Regions from separate parts of the Homo sapiens genome. Here regions 2 and 3 are each linked to region 1. The links are contacts of gene promoters, found by promoter capture Hi-C in blood cells and fetal thymus (Javierre and others, 2016). All regions are on one chromosome and are shown on one strand. The core of a region is centred on a gene start or on the middle of the fragment in contact, and the rest is flanking DNA. Distances in the headings are between cores, read along the strand shown.

Region 1 (2,700 bases), core at 129-2,628:
AAAGACCTACACTACTTACAAAAGTAAATGAATAAGGGAACAAAACGTTAAAGGGGGAAATTCTGATGCAAACTAAACTACAGCTAATTTAACAAAATTGAAGCTTGTCGTAAGATCTAATTTTTTAAAAAGTTTTCGCATTTTAGATTCCACAACACGCATTCATTACAATAGTTCCGAAAATCATGTTTCAAAAGAGGTGTAGTCAGATTGACTTCATCTGCAGAAGGGCAACAAAACCCAATTGCTCATGAAGGGTTATGATTTTACTCGCAATCAGTTTCCCGAATGGCTACTTTGTTTCATTTCCCCATATTTAATACAAATACACAATGAGATGGTTTAAAAGTGTGCAACAATTTATAGGGACCAGATGTCAACAAATTAGCAGTCTAAAGCAAGGCTGACAAATAATACATCATGCCGATTTTTGTCCAGAATAATTATAATGGCGGAGGGGGGAGAAGATGTGAGAGAAGGGGTGGGAGAGGGGAATAAGAGCTTAACTCTACACGCACATCTCCCAAAAAGAGCTCTTTCTTTCCACCACGGGATTATTGTAAAGGGCCCCCAAGCTTTAGCTACTGTTCAGGCAGGGTGCGTTAGTTGTCAGCCTGGCTGGGATGGATTCGTGCAAGGGATGTCACTCAAACGCAAGTGAAAGTACGGTCCTTGCGACTTATTTCGAGTTTTCTTTGCAACAGCAGCCCAAGGCCGCTACTCTGCTACTTCTATCTAAAAAACAGAAAATCGGCAACCCCCGCATCATCAATCAAGCTGAGAAAGGAAGCTCTTGGGGCAAAGGGGCAACAGGGCACCCCCAAATCTCTGAGGCTCGCTCCAGGCAGAGGCAGCAACCTGAGCTGCTCTGGGGCCCCTGCGCTCCAGGGGACTCCCGGAGCCCCCGGGCCGCCTCCCCCGGCCGGCGCGGCGGGGAGGGCCCCACTCCACACCCCGGGCTCGCCCCGCGGTCCAGCCCCAGGGAGGTTAACCCCTTCGGCGCCCTCCACGCCCTCCCCAAGCGGGGCCCGGAGCCCCCGCCCTTCGACCTCCCCGGGACTAGGGGGTCCGGGTGGCTCAGGGGACGAAGGCGCGGCGGGCGCGGAGGCGGCGGGTGGCTCCGGCCTAGGCCCGGGCAGCGTGTCCCAGCGCCCTCCCCCACTCCCACACGCTCGCTCCGGGCAGGGCGCGGACGCCCGCCCGCCGCGGCGTCCGCCCGCCCGGGGCTCGGGCCCCTTCCGGCCGAAGGCGCAGACCGGCGGCTACCTGCGGGCTGTGGAGGGCCATGGCTGCCCGTTTCATTGGGACTCCGCGATCCTCCGGCTGCTCACGCTGCTTCCCCCGCCGCCGCCATCTTCTCGCCCGCACATACACACTCGCATCGGCCGCCGCGCCTGCGCACTGGCCGCGCGCCGCGGGGCGCGGGGAGGCCGGCCCGCTGCTGCGCCTGCGCGGCCGACAGGTGGGCGTGCGCCTGCCGGGCCGCGGACATCCCCTGCCCCGCCTGGAGCCTGCCGGACTCTGAGCCCCGCGACCCTCGGGCGGAAGCGGCCGGGCGGCTGCACACCAGGAGCCCGCCGAGGCCTGGCTGTGGATCCGGAAGGGGAGAGGGCAGGCAGGTAGAGGTGGCAACGCCAAGGCGCCGGCGGGCCCGGCTCCTCACCTACTGGGGGCCACCTGGGCCCCCGGAGCCCGGGAGTCGCGGGCTGAGGTCGGCCTGGGGCCCACGAGCCGCCCTCAGCGTACCTGGGCCCGGGCCTCGGGAGTGTTCGCATTAGATCCCCGAGGAGGGTCTGGTTTATGAAGATCCCGTTGCCGCGCATTCATTCATTTGTTCACTCTTCATTCACTCCCCAAGTCCTGCCTGGGCGCCTGGGCCACGCCTTTGGCTAGGCATTAGGGGAAAAAAGCAAAACAGACAAAAACAAAACGTAGGGCATAAAAGCACGCGTAAAGTGCTTGACATGAGGCCTGGCAAGTAGCAAACACTCAGCAAGTGCTACGTGTTGCACACGTGCGTGCGTGTGCACGGGCAAACCAGCCTTGGGGGTCGTTGGTTCATTCATTATTAAGAAACAGGGGCCCCTGCCTAACTGCACTGTTTTCCAGCCAGTGGGTCCACCCTTGGGTTTTGGCCCCTTTTCTAGCTGTGATTTCAGACAAGCGACTTTCCTTCCCTAAGCCTTGGTTTCCTCACCTGTGAATAAGACAAATATGTCATAACGCGTAAGATTTCTGTGAGGTTCAAATTAGATTAACGTGAGCACACTGGCCAAGAGAATAGTCAATAAAAATTGGCTACTGGGATTGTTATTAATAACCATTACTATTGGTTTCATTTATTCAACAAACACCTACAGAGAGTCTGCTCTTGCTAGACCGTACACTGAGCAGAGGAGATGAACAGGAAGATCCATTCCCACGTTACATAAAATAGGGAGCCTGGTCTCTTCATAAATGGGATGCCATGAAAAATATAAGTGGGCCAGGCGCAGCGGCTCACACCCGGAATCCCACACATTGGGAGGCCGAGGCGGGCGGATCACTTGAAGTCAGGAGTTGGAGACCAGCCTGGCTAATATGATGAAACCCCAACTCTACTAAAAATACAAAAATTGGTGGGATGTAGTGTGGCACACCAGGCGTCCCAGCTACTCAGGAGGCTGAGGTGGGAGGATCACTTGAACCCCGGAGACGGAG
Region 2 (2,700 bases), core at 133-2,632, 580 kb after region 1:
CTAGGGCTTATGTGTGTACTTAATTTAACCCTCATCCTTTAAGGTAGATATTAGTACCCCTATTTTTTAAAAAAATTATTTATTTATTTTTAAGGCAGAGTCTCGCTCTGTCGCCCAAGCTGGAGTGCAGTGGTACGATCTCAGCTCACTGCAACCTCCGCCTCCCAGGTTCAAGCGATTCTCTGCCTCAGCCTCCTGAGTTGCTGGGATTACAGTCATGCGCTACCACACTCAGCTAAGTTTTTATATTTTTGGTAGAGCCGGCGTTTCACCCATGTTGACCAGGCTGGTCTGAAACTTCTGACCTCAAGTGATCCGGCTGCCTCGGCCTCCCCAAGTGCTGGGATTACAGGCGCGAGCCACCCCGCCTGGCTAGTACCCCTATTTTTGTAATGAAGAAGCTGAGGTACAAAGAGGTTAAACAACCTGCTCAAAATTACGAAGTAGAAGCCTGAGGTGGGGTATGGTAATTTGTGATTCTACATTTATCCACCATATTAAGTCAACTGTGTTAAATCATGTTGAAGGAAGATGATGCGCTGTGATCTGTAATATTGGTGCAGTTCAGCATTACCGTGGTGCAGTGTCAAGTTCCAAAAGACACAAAACTGTCTGATCGGCCTGTAGCGCATCACCGCCCACCAGCAGTACCTGAAGACGCTTTCAGTCCCCTGCTAGTGCCGTACGGAGTCCGGGCTGGTCCATTTACATTGAAAACAAACTGATCCTAGCATCTAAGTCACCCAGACATCTTTTAGGCGGCAAGCTTTTCAGACAGTTTAACACATTTATTCTTGTTTTTTCAAAAAGAGCAAACACGTGGCGTTACAAAGGTCCTCCGTTTCGCACGCACCGGTGTCCCGGCAGCGCGCTGCGCGTCGGGAGGCCCAGTCTGTCGTCCCGTGGGGCCGGGGGTCAGGAGGTCGGGCAGGCGGGATTTGGGGTTTCGCGTGTTCCGGACCGGACACTTCGCCATCTTAACGAGCTACCGCCCGGGTTAAGGGGCACCCAGGGCAGGTGCCCGGCCGGGGGTGGGGTGTCCGAGCCGCCGGTGCCTGGACGTGGACCCCTGCAGGAAGGGTCCGCGCGGGAAGCGAGCTCTCCACGAGTCCATGACAGCAGGCCCGCGGGGGCAGGGAGCCTGCGCCAGGCAGTCTTTCTAGATCCTGGCCCAGCCTGGCCGCTTTCGCGCCCGTGCTCCTTTTCGGGGATCCTAGAGCGACGCGCAGAGCGGACCAAGGGTTCCCCCAGCGCGTTCTCGCCGCCTGGCAGCTCGCTGGCCACGCCCCTCCGCTTCCACCCTGCCACCGGCCCCCGCCGCCGCAAATGTCGCGAGACCTTCGTCCATCCTCCCGGCGTGGTCCCGCTGCCCACGGCGTCCAGAGCGCGCACGCAAGCCCCGGGAGCGCGGGACAGACAGGGCACGCTGGGTCGGCGGAGCTGAGGCTCCCAGCTGTGGGCCTCGCTGGCCCGGTCGCCCAGTCTCGCGAGAGTTGGGAGTAAACAGCCCCGAATGGAGTGCCCAGGCGTGTTCGCCGCGGAGGCGCCGTTATCCCGGGCCCGCCGGCCCTGAGCTCCCGGCGGCGCAGGTACGTCAGCCGCCCGCGCGCGGCCTCCCCGACCCGCTCCGCCTAGCGGCGGCGGCCCGCTCGCTCAGGTGTGCCGGTTGCGTCCGAGGCCCCGAGGCGAGGGCTGCGGGGGCCGGGCCGGGTCGGGGGAGGTGGGCGCGGGGCCTCCGGCGCTTGTTTGGACACAGCGTGCCTGTACCGCGGCCCTGCGGGGGTCTGCGCGCTCCGGCAGCTTGTTCCGTTGCCTGGTTTTCTTTACGTGAAATGAGCATTCACCGAGTGAAACAATACGCCCTGCTCTGGCCCGGAGCCTCCAGACAGACTCAATTCTAGGTGCGCTTCCGGGGCAGTGCTGGCGTCAGGTTTAAAAGACGTCGATTCTTTGCCTTATCTCGGTCTGTGCATATTGCGCTGCTGGTTTTTGGAAATGCGGGGATTCTGTTCGGCGAACTCTCAGAACCAGATTGCCTTTTAAACCTGTAGCTTCTTAAAAATCTTGCCTCGCCTTGGCATGGTTGCGCTACCTAAGACCGTTGTGGATCGTCAGTATTTTTATTAAGATGTTTACCTTTCATATTGGGTTGAGCCCCTGAGAATCTTGGCCTATTTGTCTACACAAATTAAGTTATTAGATTCTGATTGACACTTCGAAATTACGTGGAGTGGAATACGACCTGCGTTGAATTCTGGAGACTCATCCTTTAGTCTGAACTGTGTAGGTAAGCCCTCCTAACGTCAAGGTCTCCAATTGTATGTCTACGAAAAGGAGGGCTTGCAGAAGAGAAGTAATTCCTCTCATTTTTTTTTTTTTCAATCTGGAGAATCCGCTTTTATTATTTATACTTATTTTTTAATGTAAGAGCTTCATTGAAGTAGAATTTACATACCATAAAATCCACCTGTTTTAAGTGTACTATTCAGTGGTTTTTAGTAAATTTACAGCAGCACAGCCACTACCAAATCCACTTTTAGAACATTTCCGTTACCCCAAGACCTCTGATGCCCAGTTGTAGTCAATGCCCATTTCCAGGCCCCGCCACAGGCAACCTTTCATCTACTTTGTCTTTCTAGATTTGCCTTTAATGACTATTTCGTATATTCAGATGGAAACATATGATATGCGGCCTTTTGT
Region 3 (2,700 bases), core at 164-2,663, 610 kb after region 1:
TCAACTTCAGTGGGAGTTTCTGTCAGTGACTTCTGTACCAGCCTCTGCTCCTTGAGTTCCTGGGAATGTGTAAACATCTAGCATCAGTCATCAGAAAATCATTATTCGTTCCTCTGAATGACCAGCTGGTAGGATATTGGTGGCCAGTGGGCTGAGGAGGCAGTACCACTTTTTCTCGGTGTGTTGGGAATTGTCAGTTAAAAACACACTCTAGAAGGAGAACTTCATGCTGCTATTATCTCTTAAGCCACTTGGAATCAGTTGTATGTAGTTGTTGATTTGTCAAAGAGTTCATTTTTTTTGGTAGTGGAGCCATAATAAAGCTTAGCAATGCAGTTTTATAACTGAGTGTCTCATATTTTCAAATGGTTCATCTTTATCTTGACTTTACGGTTTACACATTTTTGCCATTATTTATTTCACTATAATTTCTTTGCAGATCTAGTGCACTTAAGGTATTGGAGAGACTCTAAGGAGCTCAAGATTACAGAGTAATGATAGTCCTTCTACAGTTCCCTATGAGGAGGGTAGAACACCACCACAGGTCAATCGAAAACTTACCACTTCCTGACCTTGGCAGATGTAAATGTGTGGTTATGGTTTCTTCCAGGAGAAGTGTGTGATTTAGCTGGGGAGTTAAGATGAATGTGCTGGGAACAATTTGAAAGTGATGTGAGAATGTGTCGTTAGGTGATAAATTGTGATTGTGTTAAGTGTTGTGAGGTTCAAGGCAAGTACAGATGCTTAAGGCTTGGATTGCTGGAGGGAAAACGTGAGCCTTGAGCCCCAGTGTGCCAAGTTGACAGGGAGGAGAAGAAAGGAGGGGCGTTGCAGGTGAGAGGGCGTAATGTGAGCACAGCATGAACGTGGCAGGATCATGCGTTTCACAGGACAGCCGTGAGGAGCTGCACACGTCTTCCCACAGAAGCAGCTCATACAGTGTTAGATTGTTCTGGGAGTATTCGCCCTGGTTTGAATCATCCATTTTAAATTATTTCTCTTGTTTTTTTCTTTTTCTTTTCTTTTTTTTTTTTTTTGGTCTCAATATAGCACTCTGAATAACCCTGCTGATCAAATGGATGTGATTGGAGTAGGCGGCATTGACTTTGAAGATAACATCGCCCGCTTTTCTTCAAGGGGAATGACTACCTGGGTACGCTCTTCTTTGCTAAATAATTGTATTTAGCTGGACAAACTACTGTGGCTAGTGGCACCGGTTGTTGACGAGCCTTGGGGTGTATTTGTAAGTGCACAGACACCCTCACATTCACATGGGAATAGCCGGGGCTGTGAGTGCCTGCCCAGCCGTGAGGACGAGAGATCTGGGCCCCGTCAGCATCTGCCACTTCACTCTGGCAAGTCCACAGCTGCTGTGATGAGCACCGGCTGATTCTAAGCGGTGTTTCCCAGTTTAACTTATTAATTGATTTCTGAGGAACTCACCTTTAGGTGAATTGGGTTCCTGCCCGTTTACCCTATCTAGTAGTGGTAAGCAGTCCTCCTCAGTGGTAGGTGAGATGATATTTTTTGGGGGAGGGGAGCCTTAAGAAGTTGGAGAAACCATTGAGAACAGCTTAATATCAACTCTGCTAACACAGAAACAATTGTATTTAGCTGGACAAATTCAAAATAACTGCTACAGTTAATAATTCAGCTGTTTGGGGTTTAATTATGCAGCACATTCACCCACCTTTACCTGTCAAAGTTTGATGAAAAATTAGACGCTCGTGCAGAACAGCAGTTGGGCACCTTTGCCCTCGCTGTGGCCGAGGGGAGCATCTGCCCTTCTCATTCTTCAGGGTCAGAGCATCTCTTGGTGTTTAACGTCACATGCCACACTCGGAGGCCTCAGATAAGTCCCTGGAAAGATTCCCAACTGCCTGGGAACACTGTGGGCCTCGTCCACACTGTAGCCACTTTACAGGATAGCCTTCTGCCTGAGCCTTTGTCCTGTGACAGCGTCAGCCCCCAGCGTCCCCGCCACTCAGCCCCACCAGGGGTCCCCGCCTCCCACACTCACGTGCCTCTTCCTGGAGCTGACCTGTTGGCTGGGGACCATTCTCTCATGTGACAGTCTGTGCAGGGCAGGCTGCGTGTCCTCCCATCCACGCTCCCTCAGCATGTTCCTTGTGCTGCCGGATAATGGGAAACTGCATCCACCACTTTGTCCCCAGCTCCCTGTGTAAATGCTCTCACCGAACTGTGGTGAGATGTCATCCACTTTGTCCCCAGCTCCCCGTGTAAACGCTTTCACCAAACCGTGATGAGATGTCACGTCCATGGCCTTCATCACCAGCCAGCTTTTTAATGGCATTTGAGAAATGTCCTTCCATCATCACAGCTGCAGTGGAGGATGCCTTTACTCGGTATCCCAGTATGTGCATCCATGGTCCTTGGGTTTGATGGTCAGAAAAGGGCTTCCCTTCAAATTGGGCTCCTGTTTTCTGACAGAATATGAGATCCTATTCTAATTTTCGTTTTGCCCCAATTCTTAAGAAGCTTAAGCAAGTACTTATTAAAACGTTATCCCAAGTTAGTCGTGTGGTTATCTTGTTCCTTCTCAGTGGTTTCTTATTTCCTCTTTTACAACCGTTTGAAACATCCACTCATACCGTGTACTTTTTTCCTTGTAAAGAAACATGTTTGGGTTTTTTTACATTTTAATTTTCTAATTTTTCTAACATATTTCTAATTTTAACT

Evidence for each region. Contacts are between HindIII fragments. The CHiCAGO score rates a contact against its expected background, and 5 or more counts as called.
Region 2: a contact is called between the fragment with the promoter of MBTPS1 here and the fragment with the promoter of USP10 in region 1, in 4 of 17 cell types (total CD4 T cells, non-activated CD4 T cells, naive CD8 T cells and 1 more). The highest score is 7.8, in total CD4 T cells.
Region 3: a fragment that was not itself captured here is called in contact with the fragment with the promoter of USP10 in region 1 in 1 of 17 cell types (fetal thymus); the score reaches 5.5 in fetal thymus.

What each region holds. Positions count from the first base shown.
Region 1 is chr16:84,698,678-84,701,377 of GRCh38, reverse strand. USP10 (ubiquitin specific peptidase 10) reads right to left here and starts at 1,378. Exons shown (of 14, transcript NM_005153.3): 1 at 1,267-1,378. The coding sequence starts at 1,287. RefSeq lists silencers at 807-916, 957-1,066, 1,077-1,296, 1,387-1,906. The HindIII fragment of the contact is 5,859 bases long and covers 578-2,700 here.
Region 2 is chr16:84,115,624-84,118,323 of GRCh38, reverse strand. MBTPS1 (membrane bound transcription factor peptidase, site 1) reads left to right here and starts at 1,382. Exons shown (of 23, transcript NM_003791.4): 1 at 1,382-1,589. MBTPS1-DT (MBTPS1 divergent transcript) reads right to left here and starts at 1,281. Exons shown (of 1, transcript NR_186375.1): 1 at 1-1,281. RefSeq lists an enhancer at 652-811 and silencers at 962-1,061, 1,462-1,891. The HindIII fragment of the contact is 14,847 bases long and covers 769-2,700 here.
Region 3 is chr16:84,085,811-84,088,510 of GRCh38, reverse strand. It overlaps MBTPS1 (membrane bound transcription factor peptidase, site 1), which reads left to right. Exons shown (of 23, transcript NM_003791.4): 9 at 1,051-1,153. Among named protein-coding and RNA genes, the nearest start is that of MBTPS1, 30 kb to the left of the region's middle. The HindIII fragment of the contact is 2,176 bases long and covers 326-2,501 here.